2 separate regions of the Homo sapiens genome follow, and region 1 is linked to region 2. The links are contacts of gene promoters, found by promoter capture Hi-C in human tissues and cell types (Jung and others, 2019). All regions are on one chromosome and are shown on one strand. Each heading gives the region's core, a stretch centred on a gene start or on the middle of the fragment in contact. The rest is flanking DNA. Distances are from core to core; before and after follow the strand shown. Region 1 overlaps GRAMD2A (GRAM domain containing 2A). Region 2 holds the start of HEXA (hexosaminidase subunit alpha).

Evidence for each region. Contacts are between HindIII fragments. The study calls those that stand out against the background at their distance.
Region 1: a contact is called between a fragment that was not itself captured here and the fragment with the promoter of HEXA in region 2, in 1 of the 25 tissues and cell types used here (aorta).

Annotation. Positions count from the first base shown.
Region 1 is chr15:72,189,981-72,194,302 of GRCh38, forward strand. All of the region lies in intron 1 of GRAMD2A (GRAM domain containing 2A), which reads right to left. Among named protein-coding and RNA genes, the nearest start is that of GRAMD2A, 5.6 kb to the right of the region's middle. RefSeq lists an enhancer at 3,642-4,265. The HindIII fragment of the contact is 5,455 bases long and covers 1-4,322 here.
Region 2 is chr15:72,374,504-72,378,894 of GRCh38, forward strand. It overlaps HEXA (hexosaminidase subunit alpha), which reads right to left and starts at 1,511. Exons shown (of 14, transcript NM_000520.6): 1 at 1,217-1,511. The coding sequence starts at 1,469. HEXA-AS1 (HEXA antisense RNA 1) reads left to right here and starts at 1,610. Exons shown (of 1, transcript NR_027262.1): 1 at 1,610-4,285. RefSeq lists enhancers at 747-1,302, 1,303-1,859, 1,751-1,890, 2,221-2,270. The HindIII fragment of the contact is 13,358 bases long and covers 1-4,391 here.

The DNA of each region.
Region 1 (4,322 bases), core at 1,059-3,558, 180 kb before region 2:
AAAGGTGCATTGTAACTAGGCAACAGGAATTTCAAAATGTATGCCTATACATGAATATCATCTATTAGATCTGTCACTGCAGTCCTGACTATTAGAAAGTTCTAATAGTCAATTAGCTGGGCGTGGTGGCTCACGCCTGTAATCCCAGCACTTTGGGAGGCCAAGGCGGGAGGATCACAAGGTCAGGAGATCGAGACCATCCTGGCTAACATGGTGAAACCCCGTGTCTACTAAAAAAAATACAAAAAAATAGCCGGGCGTGGTGGCAGGCGCCTGTAGTCGCAGCTACTCAGGAGGCTGAGGCAGGAGAATGGTGTGAACCTGGGAGGCGGAGCTTGCAGTGAGCCGAGATTGCACCACTGCACTCCAGCCTGGGCGACAGAGTGAGATTCTGTCTAAAAAAAAAAAGGTTCTTCCCAATACCTAAATGGACCACCTTCTAGCTAATAATCCTTCACCAAGGAACAAACCTTTGTCCTCATGTTCCTTCCTTAATAAAACTGGATCTCCACTGCTGGTGTGACCAGGGCAAAGTCTGCTCCACAACTCTCTGTTCTCTTGTGTCTTCTTATATTGCAAGATTCATTAACTTTTCCAGTTTCTGTTTTCACATGGGGACACTTGGTTATTTCCCATTCTCCCAAGTCTTCCATCATTATGGACGCAGATTGACAATCTAATGTAAATTACATGCCTCTGAGGTCCAGGCAAGAGTTGGAGGGTGGATCTGTGAACTCCTGGAACTTTGGGCAAAATTGTTGGGTCTGAACAAAGGAGTATGTTTCTGGGAAGAGAGCATTTCACTTTTATTAGACTCTCAACGTAGCCTATGACCCCCAAATGATAGAAAATACTCCTCTAATTAAGCAGCTCCTTGGGGAAATGGCTGATTCCGGATCTGAGGAAATGCAAAAAGGAGCCTAAAACATCTAATCATACCAGAAACTAAAGAAGTCATTGAAGCCTGGAGTCATGGCTCAAGAACTCAGGAACCAACTTAAAGATGGGACCATTTGAGCATCAATAAGAATGGATTAAAACACATCAAATATGTTTAAATCCATGAGATTATAATACACCGAAATGACTCATTGGCCACCTTTGGTGGCTACTAGAGCCCATACCACGATTTTGAAAACTAAGAAATAAGAGTCAAGTATTTATTCTGCCTTTCTAGTACTGGCTACACCTCAGGATAAGCAAATGGTTGAAGAGGGAACACATCTTTTTTTTTTTTAAATGGAGTTTCACTCTTGTTGCCCAGGCTGGAGTGCAATGGTGTGATCTCAGCTCAATGCAACCTCCGCCTCCCGAGTTCAAGCGATTCTCCTGCCTCAACCTCCTGAGTAGCTGGGATTACAGGTGCCCGCCACCATGCCCAGCTAATTTTTGTATTTTTTTTAGTAGAGACAGGGTTTCACCATGTTGGCCAGGCTGGTCTCAAACTCCTGACCTCAGGTGATCCGCCTGCCTTGGCCTCCCAAAGTGCTGGGATTACAGGCAGGACCCACCGTGCCCAGCTGGGAACACATCTTTTTATAGAAAGAGTCTCCTAATAAATGATGAAAAACTGGTAGGATTAGACTAATACCATATTTCAGTCCCTAATTAAATAATGGGTCTGCATGAAATAATCATCAATGGCTGCTAACATTCTTCAAAGAGAAATAACTGATATTATATACTTCTTGAAGCACACAATACCATCAGAATCTGACCGAGACTGTAGGTCCAACTCCCAATGTATAGGAAATACATAAATCAAAGGAATGGTTTAAACAACATCAACACATCAGAAAAAGTTATAGAAAACATAGCCTGTTTTTTTCAACAAATAATTTGCAAGGAAAAAAGAAAAGGAAGAAAAGAGGAAACCATAGACTAAAGAGATAAAGATATAGAGATTCAAAATGGCAACTCTTTGACTTTAGTCAAAGTATAAACTTCATTTGAATCCTTATTAAATGGTACAAAGACATTTATGAGACAATGGAGGGAATGTAAATGCTGACTAGCTATCTGATTAAGAAGTTACTGCCATTTTTTAGATGTAATAATGATATTGTAGAAATATTTTTTAAAGGCTCTTTTATAGATATACATTGAAATATTTTTGGATAAAATAATATAATAGCTACAATTTGCTTCAGAATAATCCAGGAGACAGGGAGAAGGGAGGTATATATGAAACAAACTTTACCCATGACTTGATTATTGCTAAAACCAGGAGATGGGTACATGCCACTTATTATACTATTCTCTCTCCTTTTGTATATGTTTGAAATTTTCCACAATAAAAAGTTAGCAATTCAGAATATAAACATGTTTCAACTTGTCTGGTAATGAAGGAAGCCCAATAGGAATACCAATTCTGAAGTACTGTCACTGGGTTATTTTAAAATAAAATTTCTAAGTAATCCTTCAAAAATTCAAAATGTATTTTAAAATAGCATTTTGTGTGGCCTGAGTGATTACTGGCAGGTTTTGAGTAATCTGATTAATTCTAACACATATTAGAAATATCTAAACTTTTTTCCTACAGAAGAGAGAAAAAAAATCCTAATAATCAGTCACAGTTGTTTGGTCAGGCATACTGCCCACGCTGCTGTGCGGTGGGTAAGGCAATGAAATGAAATACCAGCAGGATCTCGACAATTAACTACTATACCATTGATGTGCCATGTACAGATGTTAGGAGGAAAAGCAATTCATGTTTGATTTAAACTAATTCTTCAAGTGATCTTTACTTTAGGTTAAAAAGAAATAGAGCCAGCCAAAAACTGCTTAAAAATTAACAATGTAATTACAAACATCACTGAGGAAACACTAATTTATGACAAGGCTTTAAAGATTGGTTCAGTCGGCCAGGTGCAGTGGCTAATGCCTGTAATCCCAGCACTTTGGGAGGCCAAGGTGGGCGGATCACCTGAGGTCAGGAGTTCAAGACCAGTCTGACCAACATGCAGAAACCCCATCTCTACTAAAAATACAAAAAATTAGTCGGGCGTGGTGGCACATGACTGTAATCCCAGCTACTCGGAAGGCTGAGGCAGGAGAATCGCTTGAACCTGGGAGGCGGAGTTTGCAGTGAGCTGATATCGTGCCATTGCACTCTAGCCTGGGCAACAAGAGTGACAGTTCGTCTCAAAAATAAATAAATAAATAGATAAATAAATAAATAAATAAAGATTGGTTCAGTCGCCACAGGTTATTAAAACACGCCTCCAGTCCTAAATGATGACCAATCATTTCTTTTTTTTTTTTCATTCTTGTTGCCCAGGCTGGAGTGCAAATGGTGTGATCTTGGCTCACTGCAACCTCTGCCTCCCGGGTTCAAGCGATTTTCCTGCCTCAGCCTCCCTAGTAGCTGAAATTACAGGTGCCCGCCACCACGCCCAGCAAATTTTTTGTATTTTTAGTAGAGACAGGGTTTCACTATGTTGGCCAGGCTGGCCTCAAACTCCTGACCTCAGGCGATCCACCCGCCTCAGCCCCCCAAAGTGCTGGGATTACAGGCGTGAGCCACCACACCCGGCTTGTGCATTTCTTTTTTTTTTTTCGAGACGCAGTCTTGCTCTGTCGCCCAGGCTGGAGTACAGTGGCGTGATCTCTGCTCACTGCAAGCTCCGCCTCCCAGGTTCACGCCAGTCTCCTGCCACAGCCTCCCGAGTAGCTGGGACTACAGGCGCCCACCACCATGCCTGGCTAATTTTTTTTCTGTATTTTTAGTAGAGATGGGGTTTCGCCCTGTTAGCCAGGATGGTCTCGATCTCCTGACCTCGTGATCCGCCCGCCTCAGCCTCCCAAAGTGCTGGGATTACAGGTGTGAGCCAACGCGCCAGGCCGTGCATTTCTAAACTAATAAAAATGTATAGTAGTGGGAAGGAGGGGCGAGGAATCACTTTCTCCTACAGTGGCTTATATCCCTGAGAACAATGCCTGTCTTTTGGAATCTGTGCCGGAGCACGCAGGTGCACCTCAGGGAGGCTGTTACTTCTTAATTACACAGGAAGCTCCATTCCCAGGGGCTTCTGCCCTCCCCCTCCTCCTTCCTTTCCCACATTAGCAAATAACTGGGGAATTAAAGCTTCAAAGGTTGGTGATGACAGGTGGTGACAGACTGATGCCCTGAAGTCCAGGTGAATAGCGCACAGTGGCCAAGGCCGACCTCAAGTGAAACTCACACTTGCATCAGAGATGGCTGCAGAATTGAGGGAAATCATTTTCACTTTCCTGGAAGGGAGAAAAATTATTTTCTGGTGTTCAGGCTCACACCAGATGTCAGAGTGGAATGCTACACCGTTCTTGACTTCAAGGGCTTT
Region 2 (4,391 bases), core at 261-2,760:
ACTTTTGTGAAAGTAATTTAAACACACTTGAAACATCATATAAAATATTACTACAAGACTTAACCGTAAATGTGGCTCCCACCCCCATAACATCTATACAATATAACCAAAGAGCTAGATTCCAGATTATCAAGAAACTTCTAAATTTTGAACCCATGCAGCAGAATTGTATTCCTTTACATTGTTGGCTCGACTTACAAATGTGCTGTGGAATAATTATCCTCAAATACAATTTTCAGTACTGATTACATAGCTGCCTAAAAGAAAACTGTTAGCCCCTTCCATTTTATGTGAAACCAATGTCTAAAGCGCTCTTGACTCTTCAACCCCACATTTTCCCCACCCTCATCCCTCCTCAATCCCCAGCCCCCACTCATCACATCCACTAGACCTGAACTTTGAACTCAATCATAATTCTTTGTGCCTCTGCTCAAGCCCTTCTTCCTGCCTGGAATACCCTCTTTTCAGTCCCGGCTAATTACATCTACCATCCCATTCCAAGTGGCCGCTGGAAACTCACTTCCTTATGTTCTATGATTTCTTTCACAATTTACACTTTTTTTGTTTTGTTTTGTTTTGTTTGGGGGGGGGGGTTGTTTTTCTGAGAGGGAGTCTTGCTCTGTTGCCCAGGCTGGAGTGCAGTGGCGCGATCTCAGCTCACCACAACCTCCACCTCATGGGTTCAACCGATTCTCCTGCCTCAGCATCCCGAGTAGCTGGGACTACAGGCGCGCGCCGCCACGCCTGGCTAATTTTTTGTGTTTTTGGTAGAGACGGGGTTTCACTATGTTGGCCGGGCTGGTCTCGAACTCCTGACCTCGTGATCCGCCCGCCAAACATTCTATGTGCCAGAAACTTGTATGTAACTTTGCATAGTTCTTGTATTATGTCTCCCCAATTTTGAGTGTTTTCTCTGGTCTCTACTCAGCCCTTGCTCACAGTCTCACTAGGACCCTGGCTAGCTTGAACACGGTCAGAAGGATCACCTTAGATTTCTGCTGGCACAGTATTTTCCATAAATTAATCTCCTGATTGAACCGTAGTCCTATAGTAGTTATCTTTGGATGAAAACCTAATGCAGCTCGAGGAGGAAGTGGAGTGCCTGTGATCAGAGGGCTGGACAAAAGCCCATAGGGCGTCTCTGGAGCCCTGGGGGAACTGTCCCCAGGCAGGCACTCTCAGGGCCCAGGAACAGGGCGGGACAAGTCCGACTCACCTGTGAGGTAAGGACGGGGCCAAGACCCGGAACCGAAAAGCAGGTCACGATAGCGCTGGAAGGCCTCGTCGAGGACTGAGCAGCCGGGCTGCGCGGCCGAGCTGACATCGTACTGGAATTGAAAGTTGTTCGGGTAAAGGACGTAGCGCTGGTCGGAGGTTTGGAAGTTCTGAGGCCAGGGCCAGAGGGCCGTCGCCCGTCCTGCGAACGCTGCCGCCAGCAGCAGCGAAAACCAAAGCCTGGAGCTTGTCATGGCCCGCTGGTCTCCCCTCTCGGAGGGGGCTGGCCACGTGAGACCCTGGTCAGGTGAGCGGCGCCCCCGTGACTTATCGGCGAATCACGTGACCAGAGGCGGCTCTGCGCCTGCGACCCCAGGAGGACCCACACCCTGCCCTTTCACTTCCGGCCTGGACCTGAGGCTCCTGCTACGTGCAGCGGATTGTGCCGGGCGTCGGCAACTGCTCGGCTCGCCAGACTGTTCACGGGCCCAGTAGAGCAGTAAATAACCGGCCACCCCTGCGGCCGTGCCGGCCGTGATGGAACTAGACAGCTCACCCGACTCGAGAAGAACGGGGTGGGGAGGCGAGGACGCAGGGCGACCTGGAGAAGAAAGTTTCCCAGATGGCTCTAGGGTGAATCTTGAATGTTGTGATGCAGCTCGCCAGGCCTACGGGGAGGTAAAGGACTTGCCAGGCTGAAGTAACTTCAGAAGCAGAAAAACGGAGGATTAAAACCACAAGTCGTTGTGATGTGAAATTTCGTGGGGCAAGAAAGGGCCGGAAGTAGGTAGTCTGCACGGCTCTGCTAGAGAGAGGATCACAAGATCACACAAATGTGATCTACTTATGACTGGAAAAAATGTGTACTTTCAGAGCCAGCTTGAGGCATTCCATTGCCTCCAATATGAGCTCTTCCCTTCAAGATTGACTATAAATCTCTTAGTTACAACTCACATCCCCTTTCCCCAGACAAAACCCCACATAGCCCGGTGTGTATTTACTGAAAGCAGTAAGATATTGCTGGGGCTTTGGGTGCAAGATGGAGAGTGCTCAGAGATAATGACAGGGGCCTGGTCCTGCAGGGCCTTACGTAGAAAGTCAAGGAATTTATTCTCTGAGCAATTGAAAATCATCCCGAAAGATCTGCATTTTAGAAATACCATGTTGAGTAGTTGCATAAGAAACCAGTTAGGAGGCCCCTTTTTATTGGAGGTAGAGAATAATGAGAGACTGAACTACAGAAGTGGGGAAGGAAGACAGCTGTAGATCCAAGAAATAGTATCCGGAAGAGAGGCTTGAGAAGTGATCAAGGAGAATTCCACAGTTATCAGAGACCCTGTCTTCCTTGTTCACCACTATATTACCAGAACATAATACAAATAATGCTATTGTTATTGGGTGGCATTATTTGGTTAGTAGGTACTTTTTAAAATTTTTAAATTTAATTTTAGTATTAAAATACATGTAAAGATCAGGAAAATGAACTTTTAAAAATAAAGGGCTTTCACTGGGCATGATAACACATCCCTGTAGTCCCAGCTACTCCCAGCTATTCAGGAGGCTGAGGCGGCAGGATCACTTGAACCAAGGAGTTCAAGTTTAGCCTGGGCAGTATAGTGAAACCCTTTCTCAAAAACAAATAAAGGGCTACTGAAATAATGATAATTTATATTCAGGTCGTAGGTACCTAATTACTAGTTACACATACATGGCTTTGATGGGAAATCAAAGAAACATTCTGACAATACAGAGATTCATCAAGCAATTTGTCTTTGAAAGTTGATTATTCAAAAACAGAGCTTGTAGCAAAAGAAGCAGAAATTAGATCCCACAGTCATCAAGTTTCAGATCCTAAGGCTTGCATTCTTACACCAATTTCTTCTTTGCTTAAATCTTAATTTTCATCAGCATTAATTAAGTGTCTGGGTACTCTGCCAGTCAGGAGAGATGTTACCAAAGGTACAGGATTTGAGAAGTATTGTCAGAAGAGCCAAGTTCATAATCAGGCCCACAGGATCAATAATTTGGGGGAGTGTTTAGAGCAGTTTCAAAGATGAGAGCAGTAGATCAAAGTAGAATTTCAGGACTGAGCACATGCCAAGGCACCCTTTTATGGATATTCAACCTGTACCAGAAGGGAGGAGTCATTTACTTAAAAGAGTTACACAAGATGAAAGAGCTAGATCCAAATAAAGACGCTATAAAAATTACTAATGGGGCTGAGCATGGTGGATTACAGGGATTCAGTTATTTAATTATTACTGAAAGAGCTCTTTTAGACTTAACCAGATTTTTAAACCAAATATTCTTATGCATACATAAAAGTAAGTTACACAAGATAAATTTGTTGATCTTCCAAAATATCCCCCCTTACTATACACTAGAGTGGGGTTTTGGCATAATGGCAGACAAATAGATGGAACGGAATAGAGGGTCCAGGAAAAGAGCCATTTGATTATTACTCCATTTCAATGAAGACACCAATTTAATTTAGTGGGGAAGGCAAGTTATTTTCAATAAAAGGTGATGAAGAAAATAGATATCCCTATGTGGGAAAAATGAACTATGATCCCCTACCTCACAGCATACACAAACTTAATTAAAAATGGATCACAGGCTGGGGATGGTGGCTCACACCTGCAATTCCAGCACTGTGGAAGGCCAAGATGGGAGGATCACTTGAGCCCAGGAGTTCAAGATCAGCATGGGTAATACGAGGAAATCCCATCTCTCTTTATTTTTTTCTTTTTTGAGATGGGGGTGGTTAATGGGTACAAAAAAAGTAGCCTGAATAAGACATACTATTCGAGAGCACAATAGGGTGACTATAGTCAATAATAATTGTATATTTTAAAAGAGTGTAACTGGATTGTTTATAACTCAAAGGATAAATGATTGAGGGTATGGATAACCCCATTCTCCATGATGTGCTTATTTCACATTGGATGCCTATATCAAAACATCTCAGGTACCCCATAAATATATACACCTACTATATACCAAAAAAACTTAAAATTAAAATTAGACTGGGTATGGTAGCTCATGCCTTAATCCCAGCACTTTGGGAGGCTGAGGCGGGTGAATCACTTCAGGTCAGGAGTTTGAGATCAGCCTGGCCAACACGGTGAAACCCCATCTCTACTAAAAATACAAAAATTAGTGTGGTGGCAGGCACC